Regions from separate parts of the Homo sapiens genome. Here region 2 is linked to region 1. Evidence: promoter capture Hi-C in human tissues and cell types (Jung and others, 2019). All regions are on one chromosome and are shown on one strand. The core of a region is centred on a gene start or on the middle of the fragment in contact, and the rest is flanking DNA. Distances in the headings are between cores, read along the strand shown. Region 1 holds the start of EMX1 (empty spiracles homeobox 1). Region 2 overlaps SFXN5 (sideroflexin 5).

Evidence for each region. The method cuts DNA at HindIII sites, captures the fragments that hold promoters and counts their contacts. A contact is called where the count stands out against the background at its distance.
Region 2: a contact is called between a fragment that was not itself captured here and the fragment with the promoter of EMX1 in region 1, in 2 of the 25 tissues and cell types used here (H1 embryonic stem cells and liver).

The regions. Positions count from the first base shown.
Region 1 is chr2:72,913,950-72,921,207 of GRCh38, forward strand. EMX1 (empty spiracles homeobox 1) reads left to right here and starts at 3,570. Exons shown (of 3, transcript NM_004097.3): 1 at 3,570-4,423. The coding sequence starts at 3,904. RefSeq lists silencers at 2,056-2,225, 3,366-3,785, 3,856-3,975 and enhancers at 2,317-2,934, 2,935-3,551. The HindIII fragment of the contact is 9,258 bases long and covers 1-7,258 here.
Region 2 is chr2:73,004,945-73,011,394 of GRCh38, forward strand. The region is part of intron 6 of SFXN5 (sideroflexin 5); the gene reads right to left. LOC107985897 (a long non-coding RNA gene) reads right to left here. Exons shown (of 2, transcript XR_001739535.2): 1 at 4,239-6,450; 2 at 1-786. Among named protein-coding and RNA genes, the nearest start is that of SFXN5, 64 kb to the right of the region's middle. The HindIII fragment of the contact is 3,728 bases long and covers 3,267-6,450 here.

The DNA.
Region 1 (7,258 bases), core at 2,320-4,819:
AGAGTGATGCTTTGAGGTGATTCCCAAGTTCTCCGCATGGACAAAGGCAGAGACAATAACTTGTACTGAGTGCTCTTTGGAGTCTGACATTGATCCAGTGCACCACATATGTTATCTCATTTACTCCTCACAGAGGTCCCGTATAACGCTTGCAATTTCACAGATACGCAAGCTGAGGCAAAATAATTGGCCCAGGGCTCACCACTAATAAATAGGAGAGTCTGGATTTGGGGCCAGGTTATTCCAGAAATAGAGAGAGGGAGGGAAAACGTTAATGTGGGGCCAGAGCCAGAACAGGTAGGCTAGGCTGTATCAGCCTGGGAGGCATCGGGCTATTCTCCAAAAAGTGAGGCTCCGGGTTGCAGGAGATGGGACCTCCAGGAAACTGGTGGGAGGCTGGACAGGGGCAAAGTGAAAGGTAAGCAGCCTGAAGATGGGTGGGATGTAGTGGACTCCAGCGTGAAGAGCCTCCAGTCTCTGGCAGAGCTCAGCAGCTTGGGTGGGAGGAAACGAAGGGCAGGGAGCAGAAGGTGGTGGGGGGAACGGGTTTTGGTTAAGATGGGCAGCTGTCCAGTGGTGAAGAGGGGAAGTATTTGTGTATACGATCAGTTGTGGGGGATGGTGGTAGAGGGAGCAGTATGAGAGTCTGGGAGGAACAGGGCAGGGGAGATGGCACAGGAGAAGATTGGGGTGGGGGTGGGGGCACTGATACTGAATCCAGTACACAGAGGCAGGCTTAGAGACCCCCTGAGGGTGACAAATTCTTCTCTTAACTTGCTGCAGAGGAAACGACAAGAGAATAGGTCCTAAGAGGAGTGAAAATAGAGGAAACTGGCCAAGGGATAAAGATAAGCAGAGCTATGGAAGAAAAGGAAGAAAATTAGGGAATTACTGGAGAGGAAGCTGACAGAAAGGGGCGCTGGGAGAGGAAAAGGTGAGGGAGGACGAAAACGGAACTCCTATCACCCAGCGCATTCCAGCACCCCCTCCCCCTCCCCCGGGAAGTCTGCGACTGCATCCTCACAGGGATGGAATGGGAGTGGAAGCTAGGCCAGGCTGGGACCCCGGGGCTGTCCCAGCCCAACCAAGACGGTGACCAGACTCAAGTTACTGATCCTCCGCTGTTTCTTCATCTGTAAAGTGGAGTTAATGACAGACAGCTGGATGTCAACGTTTTTTGTTGTTTGTTTTAGAGATGGGATCTCCCTGTATCGCCCAGGCTGGAGTGCAGCGGTATGATCACGGCTCACTGCAGCCTCGACCTCCTGGGCTCGAGAGATCTTCCTGTCTCAGCCTCCCGAGTAGAAATGTCAGCATTTGAATGCCTCACAAGGGAAGGTGGTGTAATAAAAGGTCTATTGATTTAGATATGAACAAGTATACCCAGAGCCACACGAATGAAAGGAGGTGGCCAGTGTAGATGCAAGTCTAGGACGGTCGGTAGATTCCAAGCTTCTCTACCTGCCCAGTTAAACAAGTTCGTGGCCCCTGGCCAGCCTCTCGGTGGGGGTCTGCGACAGAACGGGTGGGATTCATTACCAGGCTAGGAGCGCAAGGCCCTCGGGCCGGGTTCAGCTTGCTGGGCTCCTGTCTTGTCTCAGCCCCCAGCACTTGCTCTGTCACCGCAGAGCACAGGCCCAGGCAACGTTTACCCAACTGAACCCGCATCCCTGTGGGAACCTTGTTCCAACAAAATCCCGTCGTTGTCTCCTTCCATATGGAACGAAAATCTCCTTCTGTACCTCTGCCCAGCTCCGCACCCCCGCCCCCTTAGAGATACGGCCTGGTCGGGTCCTGGTCCCCCCCTCGGCGGCGCTTCCACTTTTCCCAGACTGAGGGTGGGGAAAAGGAGGAGGGGGAAGAAATCAGAGGAGGAAAAGTCGGGAGGTAGGGGAGCCGGGAGACAGGAGAGGGGGAAAATAAAGAGCCTGAGACACAAACGAGAGGAAAAGACCATCACAGAAAGCTGGAAATCTCCGGAGAGGCCAGCGAGAACCCGCGCTCCCCACGGATTCCATCATTCCTTCCGAAGGCGCCTCTGCGGTGTCTCAGCCGTGCCAGGCCCCGGGGTTCCCAGGACGCGGAGGAGTGCTGGGTGCGGCCGCCTCGCCTCCCCACCCCTGGCCGCCCCTCCCCACCTCGCCCAAGGGGGCCGGAACGGCGTCGGCGCGCGGGGGCTTTTCGGAGCAGTCGAGTGGAAAATAGACTTTAACCCGCTTTGTGGCGGCCGGGGCGCCCTGAGCGCTCTCCAAACCACGGCTCCCGGCGCTCAGGCGGGCCGCTGCCAAGACCCGGCCTGGAGTCCCCGCAGAGTTGCGCGGCGCACGGACCCCGTGGCCTTGGGGCGTCAGGAGGCCCAACCCAGATCTGCGCGCCCAGGCAGCGCTCAGGCCGCTAGAATGGACCCCGGCAGCGGCGAGGAAGCGGAACTCTCTGCGGCTCCCTCTCCGCAGTGCGCCGGCAAGGTCCAGGTCCCAGCCTCCCCACCGCCGCCCGCGCCCTCCTAGGCCTCGGAGCGGCGCCTTTCTGCGGCCTCGAAGGTGGGGTGGGAAAGTTTGGGGAGTCCCGGCTCTCACAGCCTGTCGTGAGAACTGCCCCCGGGGAATTCGTCCGCCGTACGGAAAAACTGGCCGGAGCAGAGTCGTCCGCGGTTCCGCGGTCGCGGGTGGAAGGTGAAGGTCGAGGGAGGTCAGGCTGCTTCTGCGTGTCCTGACGGCTGGCGTGTTCTCTTGAGATGGGCTCGGGCTACTTGGCCAGCTTCAATTTAAGCCACAGTGTCTCCGAGGCCCTGACCTGGTCCGGCCCGCCGACACTTGAGCCCCCAGAGCCTCAGAGAAGGCGAGGGGGTGGATCTCCCAGTGCCGAGGCCCGCCGTCCTGGTCCAAGCCGGTCGCGGCACCGTGTCTGGGCACTGGAGCTGCTTCCAGCCCCGCGAACAGCTGGAGGGTGGCAGTGGGACCGCTCCGGCGGCTTCTCCCGCGCAGTGCCCCGCCTGGCCCCTTGTGAAGGGAGTGAGCGTCCCCTTTCCAGAGCTGTCCCCCGTGACATCCAGAAAACGCGAAACCTCAGGAACAAGGTCGCAGCTTCAGACCGCGGCCCAGGAGGCCGATGGTGGGTGAGTGGGAGAGTCCCGGAGAGCAGGGGGGCAGAGAGCTGGTTTTCGGGAAAACCAATGTGTTGGACCCCAAACATCCACCCTCCGCTCGGATCCAAGTTCTCTGAGAACTGAAACGACATCCCGGGACGAATGGGAGAGTTAGGCTGAGCTACACACCGGGGAGGGGAGGGTTGGAGTTTAGCCCCAAGCCCTTCGGACGCCTTCTTCGGCTCCCGCGTGGGTTGAGACGGCGGCACGGCCACCAGACTCAGCTAAAGGGCGGAGTCGCGAGGAGAAGCCAGTGGCGAGGGGAGGAGGAGGCCTGGATCTCCCCGCGAAGGCTCCAGTCCGGCTTTTGCCTCCGACTGCGGGCTCCCTCCCCACCCGCCGTCCCTCGCCCCGCCCCGCCCCGCCCCCCACCTTGGGGCAGGTGAGCGGCGGCCAATGGGCGAGCGCGGGGCAGGTGCCCGCTAACTCGCGCCTCGCAGCGCTGGGCGGCCGGGGCTGGGCAGGGCAGTGCGGGGACACCGGGGGCTGGGGTCGGTCCCAGCGGGACTCCGAAAGGAGGGAGACGAGCTCAACCCTCGGGCCTTACTGGCAGCTCGCAGCCTAGCACGGAGCCCGCGCCTGTGCGGGCGCCTGGAGCTGCCCGCTCCGCCGCAGCAGCCGCCGCGCCTGGCCGTACGCTGTGGCCGGACCCCGCGGTCGCTCGCTCACACACCCCTCGCCGCTCCGCGCCTGGCTCGCCCGCGGGGGCCGAGCGCGAGCGGGCGGGCGGGGGAGGTGAGGGGTGCGGGCGGGTGTGCATGTGCCTGGCTGGGTGCACACCCCGCAAGGCGGCGGCGCCAGGACGCGGAGCGCTCCCCAGAGCCCGGCTGCCTCGCACAGCTCCCGCGGCTGCGACCATGTTCCAGCCCGCGGCCAAGCGCGGCTTTACCATAGAGTCCTTGGTGGCCAAGGACGGCGGCACCGGCGGGGGCACTGGCGGCGGGGGCGCGGGCTCCCATCTCCTGGCGGCGGCCGCCTCCGAGGAACCGCTCCGGCCCACGGCGCTCAACTACCCTCACCCCAGCGCGGCCGAGGCGGCCTTCGTGAGTGGCTTCCCTGCCGCGGCCGCCGCGGGCGCGGGCCGCTCGCTCTACGGTGGGCCCGAGCTCGTGTTCCCCGAGGCCATGAACCACCCCGCGCTGACCGTGCATCCGGCGCACCAGCTGGGCGCCTCCCCGCTGCAGCCCCCGCACTCCTTCTTCGGCGCCCAGCACCGGGACCCTCTCCATTTCTACCCCTGGGTCCTGCGGAACCGCTTCTTCGGCCACCGCTTCCAGGGTGAGTGTCCACGCTGTGCCCGCCGAGGCGGCCGGCCGGCGCCCGTGCTGCGGCGATGCGGGGGAGGCTCGGGGGCGCGCGGGGCTGTTTAGAAGTTACTGCCGGGAAGGCTGCAGGTCCGCGGAGGTAGATTCCCAGGCAGGGAAGAGCTGTGCGGCATCCACCCGCGCCTTCGCCGCGTAGGTCTCCCTCCCAGGAAAGCAGGTGGAGACCTCCAGGCTTTTCTAGAAAATATACCAGTTCGGACGCAAGCCCAGGCGCGTCCTCGGAGCCTGTGCTGGCCCTCGCCACAGCCTGCCCAATTCTCTCTCCCAGCTGAGCCAGTCTCAGACCAGAGTACAACTCCTCCCGCTCTCCCTCCGCCCGGCTTAACCTCGCACCACGCTTCTCTCGCAAGTCCACCACCACCTCCGAGACCTCAGCCTTCGCTGGCGCGTCCGGGCGGGGGAAAGTCCATTCGCGTGCCCCAGCTCTGGGGGAAGCAAGGGCAGCAGGGAGGGCGAATCGGAGAGTTAATGTTCAGTGTGGAGGGCCTGGCTGTCTTGGGATGTTTCTCGGCAACCTTGGCCCGACTTCTCCAAGTCACACGTGCCTCTCCTACCCAAGGTGGGGAAGGTTTGCAGTAAGCAAACTGGCTTCCGCCGTTGCTCGCCGCCTTCGGGAGGGAGCCCACCCGGCTGCTGGAATACCGAGGACAGTTTTCCCGGGCAGGGGGCGGGGGCAGAGGGCTTTTAAGGTCGTAGCCAGTCCGAACCCCGGAGTTTGCATCCAGCAATCGGCTTGCTAATAAAGATCCTCCACTGGCCCTACACACACACACACACACACACACACACACACACACACGTTTCAATTATTTGTCTTTCCCGGAGAAAAGAGAGTTGCATTTGTTGGAGTTCGTTTTCTTCCTTGAAATTTGTTGGAGTTTGTTTTTTTCTTTTCTTTTTTTTTAAATTTTATTTTAAAGAGTGGCCTTGATTTGTACAGGCATCACTTTAGTTTCCAGTTTTATTTTGTTAGTGTAGACCAGACCACAGCCTTGTGAGAAGGGTCTATGGCTCAGAGCTAGGTAACCCGGCTTTTAGAGAAACAAATGAAAGGGACATGGCTGGAGCTTCGGCTCCAGGAGCTAATGTGACGGTCTGTAGTCTAGGTCTACAGTCAATTAGATGTTTGGCACAGTTGTTTAGATAATAAAATGAAAATTATCTCTTGACACTTTGACTTTCACAGAAAACCGCTTTCCCAGGTCCCGATTTGTCAGGCAATTTTTTCAGTCCCACCTGGCCAATAGATGCTGACCTGGCAGATACCACAAAACCAGAGAATGTAATTACTAGAATAAGAATTGTTGTGGGTAGCCTTGCCTCCTCTTTGAAGATTTCAAAGACTTGCCCAAATCCAAATCCGAAAAAACAAAAATGCTACAATGTCATCTGCCTTGGGCAAGAGTTTCTGCCACTTAAAAATAAATGTTTACTGATAACATGAGGATATCTTTAAAATTGAGCAATCTACCCTGGTCCTCCGTGGGCTCGATCCGAAGCCTGGGTCTCGAAACCTGGCGCCCAGGGGCCGAGTTGTAGTTGGGGCGGTGTGTGAGCCCGCGGGCCGCCGCGGCCGAGGGGCTGGCGGGTTGGAGGCTTGTGGAGGGATAGGGGCTCGGAGGAGAGGGCGGGGTCGTTCCTAAGTCCTGTGGCCTCCAGCCGTTCAGCTTGTCCGGAGTCGGCATCCTGGGCCGCACCCTCGGCTTCGAATCCAGCCCCTGACGCCCTCCGCACCGCGGTTCCTGCCTCCGGGCGCCGAGGGCCGGGGGCGCCTGGAGAGAAATCCAGCTCCGGCTCTGAGCGTCTCCAGTCAGGCGAGGCGGATAAATCCTTCGCAAAACCCTCTTGGAAATTGCCGCCGCTTCCTGAGCCATCAGTCCCAGCGGGTACGTTATCGAGTAGCACAAACAGTTGGATTTTTCCCTCAAGAACCGAGTCTGGACGCGGAGATGGAGCCAAGTGTGGCTGCATTTTCGGACCCGGAAATCCGTTGGGCACTGAAGGACTTTTCGAACCCTGTAGCGCTGTTGCTTCGCGGTCCATCGTCGCCGCTGCAGACGGATGCGCTCCCCGGCGGCTCTACGCCCTCCAGTCCCGGCCAGGCCTCTGGGCTGGGAGCCGAGCCGTCTCGGGCCCTCCGGCGCCGCGTTTTCTAGAGAACCGGGTCTCAGCGATGCTCATTTCAGCCCCGTCTTAATGCAACAAACGAAACCCCACACGAACGAAAAGGAACATGTCTGCGCTCTCTGCGCAGCGCTTGGGCGGCGCGGTCCCGGCGCGCGGGGAAGCGGCGTCTCCGCTAACCGAGGCGCTGGAAGGGGAAAAGCGAATGCGGAATCGTCCAGGACTCCGAAGGTCGGGGCCGCTCGCGAGCACCGAAGGGGAGGAGCCGACGAAGACCAGGAGTGGGCCGCATTTCGGTACTGTTTCCCCGAGATCAGGAACTTTCCGGGTCTAGGAGCAACGCCTGGAGGGGGCTGTAGAGACCCAGCCCCCCGGGACCCGCAACTACAATGGGCCGGAGCTTCTAAGGTCGCCTTTGTTCTGGCAGGAGGACGGGGAATGAGGTTATCTCCGCCGCCTGTCCTGCCTCTCCCTCTCCTAGCCCTAGGGCCCTCCGCCCAGCCGTCCGGCCCTGAGCCCCTGGCCGGCGGCGGCCTCTCCAGCGAAGACTGCGGCTCGAAGACTGCAGCTCGGACCCCGGGTGCTTCGGATCCCTAGCTCCCACCTCCAGCTCCCTCATTCCTGGGAATCTCTTGTGCTAGTTCCCAGCCATTGCCTTGAAGGG
Region 2 (6,450 bases), core at 3,881-6,380, 93 kb after region 1:
GCCCACATTCCCTCCCGCTGCCCTTTCCAGAACATGGCAGGGGAAAGGAAGAAAGAGATGGATAGAGAGAGGGAGCCAGTCCACCCAGCTTCAATGCCAGTGGATTGCACCTCTTCCAAGAGGGAAACGATTCAGGCGTGGCCACGCAGACGGGTGGAGAGCGCCCAGAATGTGGCTGGTACCAAGGAAAGTGGAAGGAGAGGGAAACAGGAGCCAACAGCTATGATTTCTAGCCCAGCCTCCACCCTATCGCGCTGCAGGACCTTGGCCAAATCACACATCCTATCTCTGCTCCCATTTATAGTTCATAACATGGCTGAAGTCCCCTCTGCCGCTCCAGCCCCCTGGCAGCTGTGCTCTCTGCACATCCGTCTGTACCTTTGCTGCTCCCCTTCATTTTGGGTGTCCTACCATGGACCTAGTGATTAACGCTCAGGCTCTGGTTGTCAAATGCTGGTGCCAGCATTTACCAGCTATGTGACCACAGGCAAGTCACTGGAGCTCTTTGTGCCTCTGTTTCTTCACCTGTTAAGTGAAGGACAATCCCAGTACCTCTCAGGATGGTTATGAGAGGAAGTAAGGTGTGGAGGAAATTCGCCTCAGCATGCAGCCTGCAGCAAGCGCTCCCTGGATGCCGGTTGCCAGTGCCATTCTTCTCCTCCCATGTAGTTCTTTCCTGGCCTTTGCTGGTTTCTTTCTCTGAGCTCCATAGTCAGCATTACACCACTGAACATCGTCTCATCTCCATCTCGGGAACACAAGTCTTATCCCTCAGAGAACAGAGCTCTGGAAGGCAAAATTGGGGCTTTTCCCTCTTCTTCTGATGCCCCCGCCATGGCATTCAGCACAAAGCTGGGCCCACACCCCAGGGTGGAATAACACTCCTAATTATTAGATAATTATTGGCCAGGGAAAGATCTCTGCTGGACTGGGACAATGCACTCCTGACTCCTTTTATTAAGTCCTAATTGCAGGGGGTGGGGGTGGGAGATTGAGTCTTTGGTCCAGATTATTTCCCACTCCCTGCACCCATACCCTTGCCACGGCCTCATCACAGAAGGAATTTATTTCCTCACTTTTTGGCTCTGCTTGGTCATCTAACTTGCTCTGACTGACAGCACGTGGGAGGACGTGGCAGCGTGTCAGTTCTGAGCCCTGGCTCAGAGGCCTCATGCCTTCCTGCTTGCCCTGCTGAGCATCTGAGGTTGCCACGAGAAGACATCCCTGACAAATCCCTGGTCCAAGGAGGAGGACAGACAGGAGAGACAGGAGGGTACAGTCCATCCCAGGTCAGGTCACCCTCAGTTGACCATAGTGAGATGCAGAACTGCCTCAGTCAAGCTTTGTCTAGACCGGGCAAACCCCAGCCAACCGCAGATCCCTAAGAATGAATGCTTACAGGCACGGTGGCTCACGCCTGCAATCCCAGCACTTTGGGAAGCCAAGGCAGGCGGATCACCTGAGGTCAGGAGTTCGAGACCAGCCTGGCCAACGTGGCGAAACCCCATCTCTAGTAAAAATGCAAAAACTAGCTGAGGGTGGTGGCAGGTGACTATAATCCCAGCTACTTGGGAGGCTGAGGCACACGAACTGCTTAAACCCAGGAGAAGGAGGTTGCAGTGAGCCGAGATCACACCACTGCACTCCAGCCTGGGCGACAGAGCCCAAAGAGCGAGATTATCTCAAAAAAAAAAAAAATGCTCACGTATGCCACTGAAGTGTTGTGGATGTTTTCTACACAACACTATGGTAGCAATAGCTAGCTAATACACAGCTTACTACATATGCGGAGTGACTATGCTGTTCTTTCTAGTCCAAAATTCTGTACCATTATGAATATGCCTTGAATTAAGTCTTCACCAGGGATGCTGGCTCCTAAGCAGCCCTGCTTATCAAACCCACCCAATCCAGGGGCCATCAGCCCATCTCTAGGGCTGCCCTGACAGGCCCAGGAAGAGGGGCAGTTTGTGCTTGAGCCTAGTCTCAAGACAGAGTAAGGAATGGGGCCAATGGCACCCATATGGTAACTTGCTACAAGAAAAATCACATCTTCACTTTGGGCCTCCTCCTTCAGAGTATTCTAACTGCTGCAGAGAGATGAGGTCTCAATCTGGGAGAGAGGCACCCCCAAATATCTCAGTCTGCTTGGCCAGAAGTGGAACATGAACAGCTGAAGATAAAGGCAGGAGGGGTAAGGCCACTGCCACAGTTCTGTGTACGATGATATCAGGACTCAGAACTGAGCAAGCCCCCACCCCCTTGGCCACCTCCCATACAAAACTGACTCAAACTACAGGAGAAAGGTTTTTTTAAAAGCGTGGGAAACCTGGAGAGGAAATGGGGTATGCGTCAAAACAATTGGGTGGTAAAACTGAAGCCAGGGGAAGACTAGGGCGAACTGTCTTGTTCGCCAAGATAATGGAAATAATCATCCCTCTCACCCTTCACCCCATTTCTGCTTGGCTAATCCCTCCCTCCTCATCCTTCAGGTTTCAGTTTAGGCGTCACTTCCTCCAGGATGTCTCCTCTGACCCTCACAGTGAGGTTAGGTCTGTCACGCGCTCTCCGGCACCCTGCATGCCTTCTCTGTACCATTCACCTCATCAGCAAAAAGCTGTGGAAAGTTTATCTTCCTCGAGAGCTTCTATAAGCTTCAGAGAAATGAGGCCCCTCCACGCTGCCTCCCCACATACCCGGGAGCCTCCCAGGTAGAGCAAGTGTCTTTACATCTCATCCCCTTCCGCCACACTGACTCGCTCAACTCCAAAATGTTCCTCTTTGTCATCCACCATGGGCCGCAGTACCCCAACACACAACAATTGTCCTGTTTTTTCCTTCTACTGTGTCTCCATCTTCTGATTTATGTGGCTAATGATCTGAAAGTTACACTTCAGTGTATAAGGGGTGTTGCTACTTAAAGGATGTCAGCCAGTTAAAGAAAATCTCTGTCAAATGAATGTTTACCCCAGACCGGTCAATTCTAGCTTCACTGGAGCGACACCTCCTGTGTGGTGAGCTAGGTCAACATGGCTGGGGTCTGGTAATGCTGGAGGAAGGCCAGGGAGAACATTGGGATTGGGATTTAAATGTGCAAAAAAGCAGAGGAGGGATGAGGCGGCTTGGGAGATGTCAGGAGGGCCCTGGGAAACACCCCTGGAGATGAAGTGGCCGACACCAGCATCTTCTGATACTTAGAGTCTCTAAGCCCATGTGATCACCTGTGTGTTAAAATGAAGGAGTGCAAAGTACAGAGTCCAAGTTCTTAATGTCTCAAGACAGAAATCGGATTTAGACTTAACCTAAGGCCACCAGACCCAATAACTAGGTGTTCATGGTCTGCCCTCCTTAGCACCCTGGGCTGGAAATGAGGCATTTGGTCCCTAAGTTTTGAGAGTTCGACATGACATGGAGCGGGGAGAAGGAGAGGGGAGGGAAGCAGTGCTGTGGGGAGCTCAGGGCTGAGAGAGGCACAAATGCTCTCTGGGAGAGCCCCAGGCCCATGAGGGAAACCCAGGCCCTGGCATCCGAGGCATTCCGCAGCAGCCAAGGGAAGAGGGCGCAGGAGCAGAGGAGAAATGGAGAGGGCAGGCAGGACGAGGGCCGGACCACCAGGGCCAAGCCGGGCCCTGCCTCTCCCAGGCCACGTGCATGGAAGCGGCAGTGCTGTGCTTAGGGGAAACCTGGGAAGGGAGAGGCCGTGTATAAGAAGCAACCACGCTGGCGGGTTTTTTCTGGAAAGATACCTGAAGAAAGGGAGTGACGAACCGCAGAGCCTCAGGGACAGCCTCAGTGCACCGGCATAGCCGCGGTGCTTATGTATAAATTGGGATCTCTTTGCCACACACCGAAGGGGGAAAAAGTTCCCATCTTCAAATGTTAAGCTTAAAATAAGACACTACATGGTTGCCAGTGGATCTGTGAAATCTGCTGACTAAACTGGCACCAGCCTCTGGGAGAAAACCAGCTCGTTTCTCCTGAGCTCTGGGGGGCGAGCAGGGTAGGGCGAGGTGACTCCCGGGCAAAGTGGAAACAGCGTAGGGGTCAAGCTGGGGATGTGCACCTGGGCAGAAGGCAGCTTGACTGTGGTTTCCAGAAGCTTCTCAGTTGAGGCACCTGCCAGCCTTACTCGCCCCTTCCCTTCATCACTCAGGGACCCAGTTCCTAGCACATTCGCTGGCACCCTCGTTTCTATTTTGGTAAGCATTTTTAGTGGCTTCTGCATGCGTATATTTTCTTACCCACTCCATCAGACCAGGGGCTTTCCTAAGGTGTGGACTGGAACCTTCACTCCCCTTCAGACCAGGCATTTGCTTAAATGTTCAGTGCTACCAGGCGACAGCAGGGCCTTGGAGAAGCTGATGGGGCTGCAGGAAGCACTGGAGCAGCCAGCATGCTCTTTCCACACAAGACGAGGCAGTGGCCCAGGGGTGGGGAGGAGTGGTGACGGACCATGTTGCTTGTCCATGTGAAAGTGCCAAGGTGGGAGGCCCAGGTTCTTCAAATCCAGTGGTTCCTCTGGAGACTCAGCCTCTGGCTTGACTGTTCTGAACCTCAGGATACAGATATCTGGGGCTAGGAAGTGGGGATAGGTGAGCATTGTCATTTCAGTTCTGGCTGCCTCGTAGAGCTGCTGGGAGGTATCCCAGGCCATGCTCCCCATTTCGCCTCCATCAAGTATTCACACAGGATCTTGGGGGCCAGGGCATCCTCTTCTTACACCACATGCGTTTATTCACAGAAGGATGCTTGCTCCAGGCTGGGAAAGGATCGGTCCTGTTAGGACATTCACAGCATCTGCTTCAGCAATGAACCCCTGAATGGCAGGGGAGTGGATCAGCATCCAAGTCTCCCACCTGCCTACAGGGCCATAGTGACCCTGCAATGATGGGCTTGTCTAGGGTAGGGTAAGGAGAGAGTGGAAACGTATGGGGTGAGCCTCAGTAACTCCTTGTGAATGGAAGACAGTGCTGGCATCTGCTGGGTTGGCCAGTTCTTCCCACTTGATGGCAGCTGATAATTGTGTAAGGGTCCATTTGGCTTCTCAGGGAAAAATGAGCCCCACATTCAACTTTTGCCATTTCAAATACCCAGTTACCCAGTTTAACAAAGTGATGATACCACCAAATTGTATATCTTTTAAAGTGTTGATGGAATATTTATAAAAGTTATTATGGCATTCTTGTTTGCCTATCACCATTCTTCCCTTCTTTCTTACTAATAGAATCCTTATATAATTGGGGATCAACTATATACCCAGCTAAATTCTAAATGAAATGTATATACCCAGCTAAATTCTGAATGAAATATATGCAGAACATGGAATGTTGCATGGAAATTCCCAAAAGGCTCCTTAAAGAGAGGCTGTATCTTAAAGATAAATGTATTTCGGTTGGGAGATATAGCCTACTATTCTTCTTTTCTTTCTCCTCTCTGGAATGTGAATGTGATGGCTGGAACTCCAGCAGCCATCTCGGGCTATGGGGTGACTTTTTACAATAGAAGCCAGTACTGAAAATGGTGGTGTAGAAAAATGGAAGTCTGGGTTCCTGATGATATTGTGGGGGTCCTCCTTATCTCCAAACTTCTTTGACATAAGAGAGAAATAAACTATTTTGTTTAAGCCACTGTTATTTTGGACTTTGTTACATGCAGATGACCCTGATCCTAACTGACATATTCAGATACCATGCTACAAAGAAAACCACAATAAATCCCAAATGGCAAAATTTGGCAAAATTGTAGAGGTCACTTTCTCTGAAAATAAGATAAGCTAGAACATAACAAAAGAACACATTTTTTAAAACCCAACCACTTAGAATTTAAAATGTGTTCTTCTAATTGACTAAAGAGGATTTGAAATTATAATTCCAAGCTTATTTAGAAAATAACAACATAAGATCACTATATATGAAAACATATCAGATATAGCCATGTTTTAGATATATTCAGAGGCAAATTCACAGCACTAAACACTTTCATTAGAAGGAAAATAAATAAACTAAGCATTCAAGGCAAAAAGTAAGAAAACCAACCACAAACAAAGAAAGGAGGGAAAAAGGATATTATAAAAACAAAAGCATAAAAGAATAATTAGAATACAGAATTGATAAATACATCCAAGAGCTGATTCCACGACATAGCTTTCACAAATCAATCAATTGTGCAGTGGCACAATCAAAACTCACTGAAGCCTCAAACTCCTCAGCTCAAGTAATCCTCCCACCTCAGCCTCCTGAGTAACTGAGACCACAGGCGCACACCACCATGCCTGGCTAATTTTTAAACTTTTTTGTAGAGATGGGATCTCCCTATGTTGCCCAGACTGGTCTCAAACTCCTGGGCTCAAGCAATCCTCCCACCTTGGCCTCCCAAAGTACTGGGATTACACGTGTGAGCCACCACTCCTGGCCTCAGTTATTTTAATAAAGGAGATGGAGGTGTGGAGTGGAA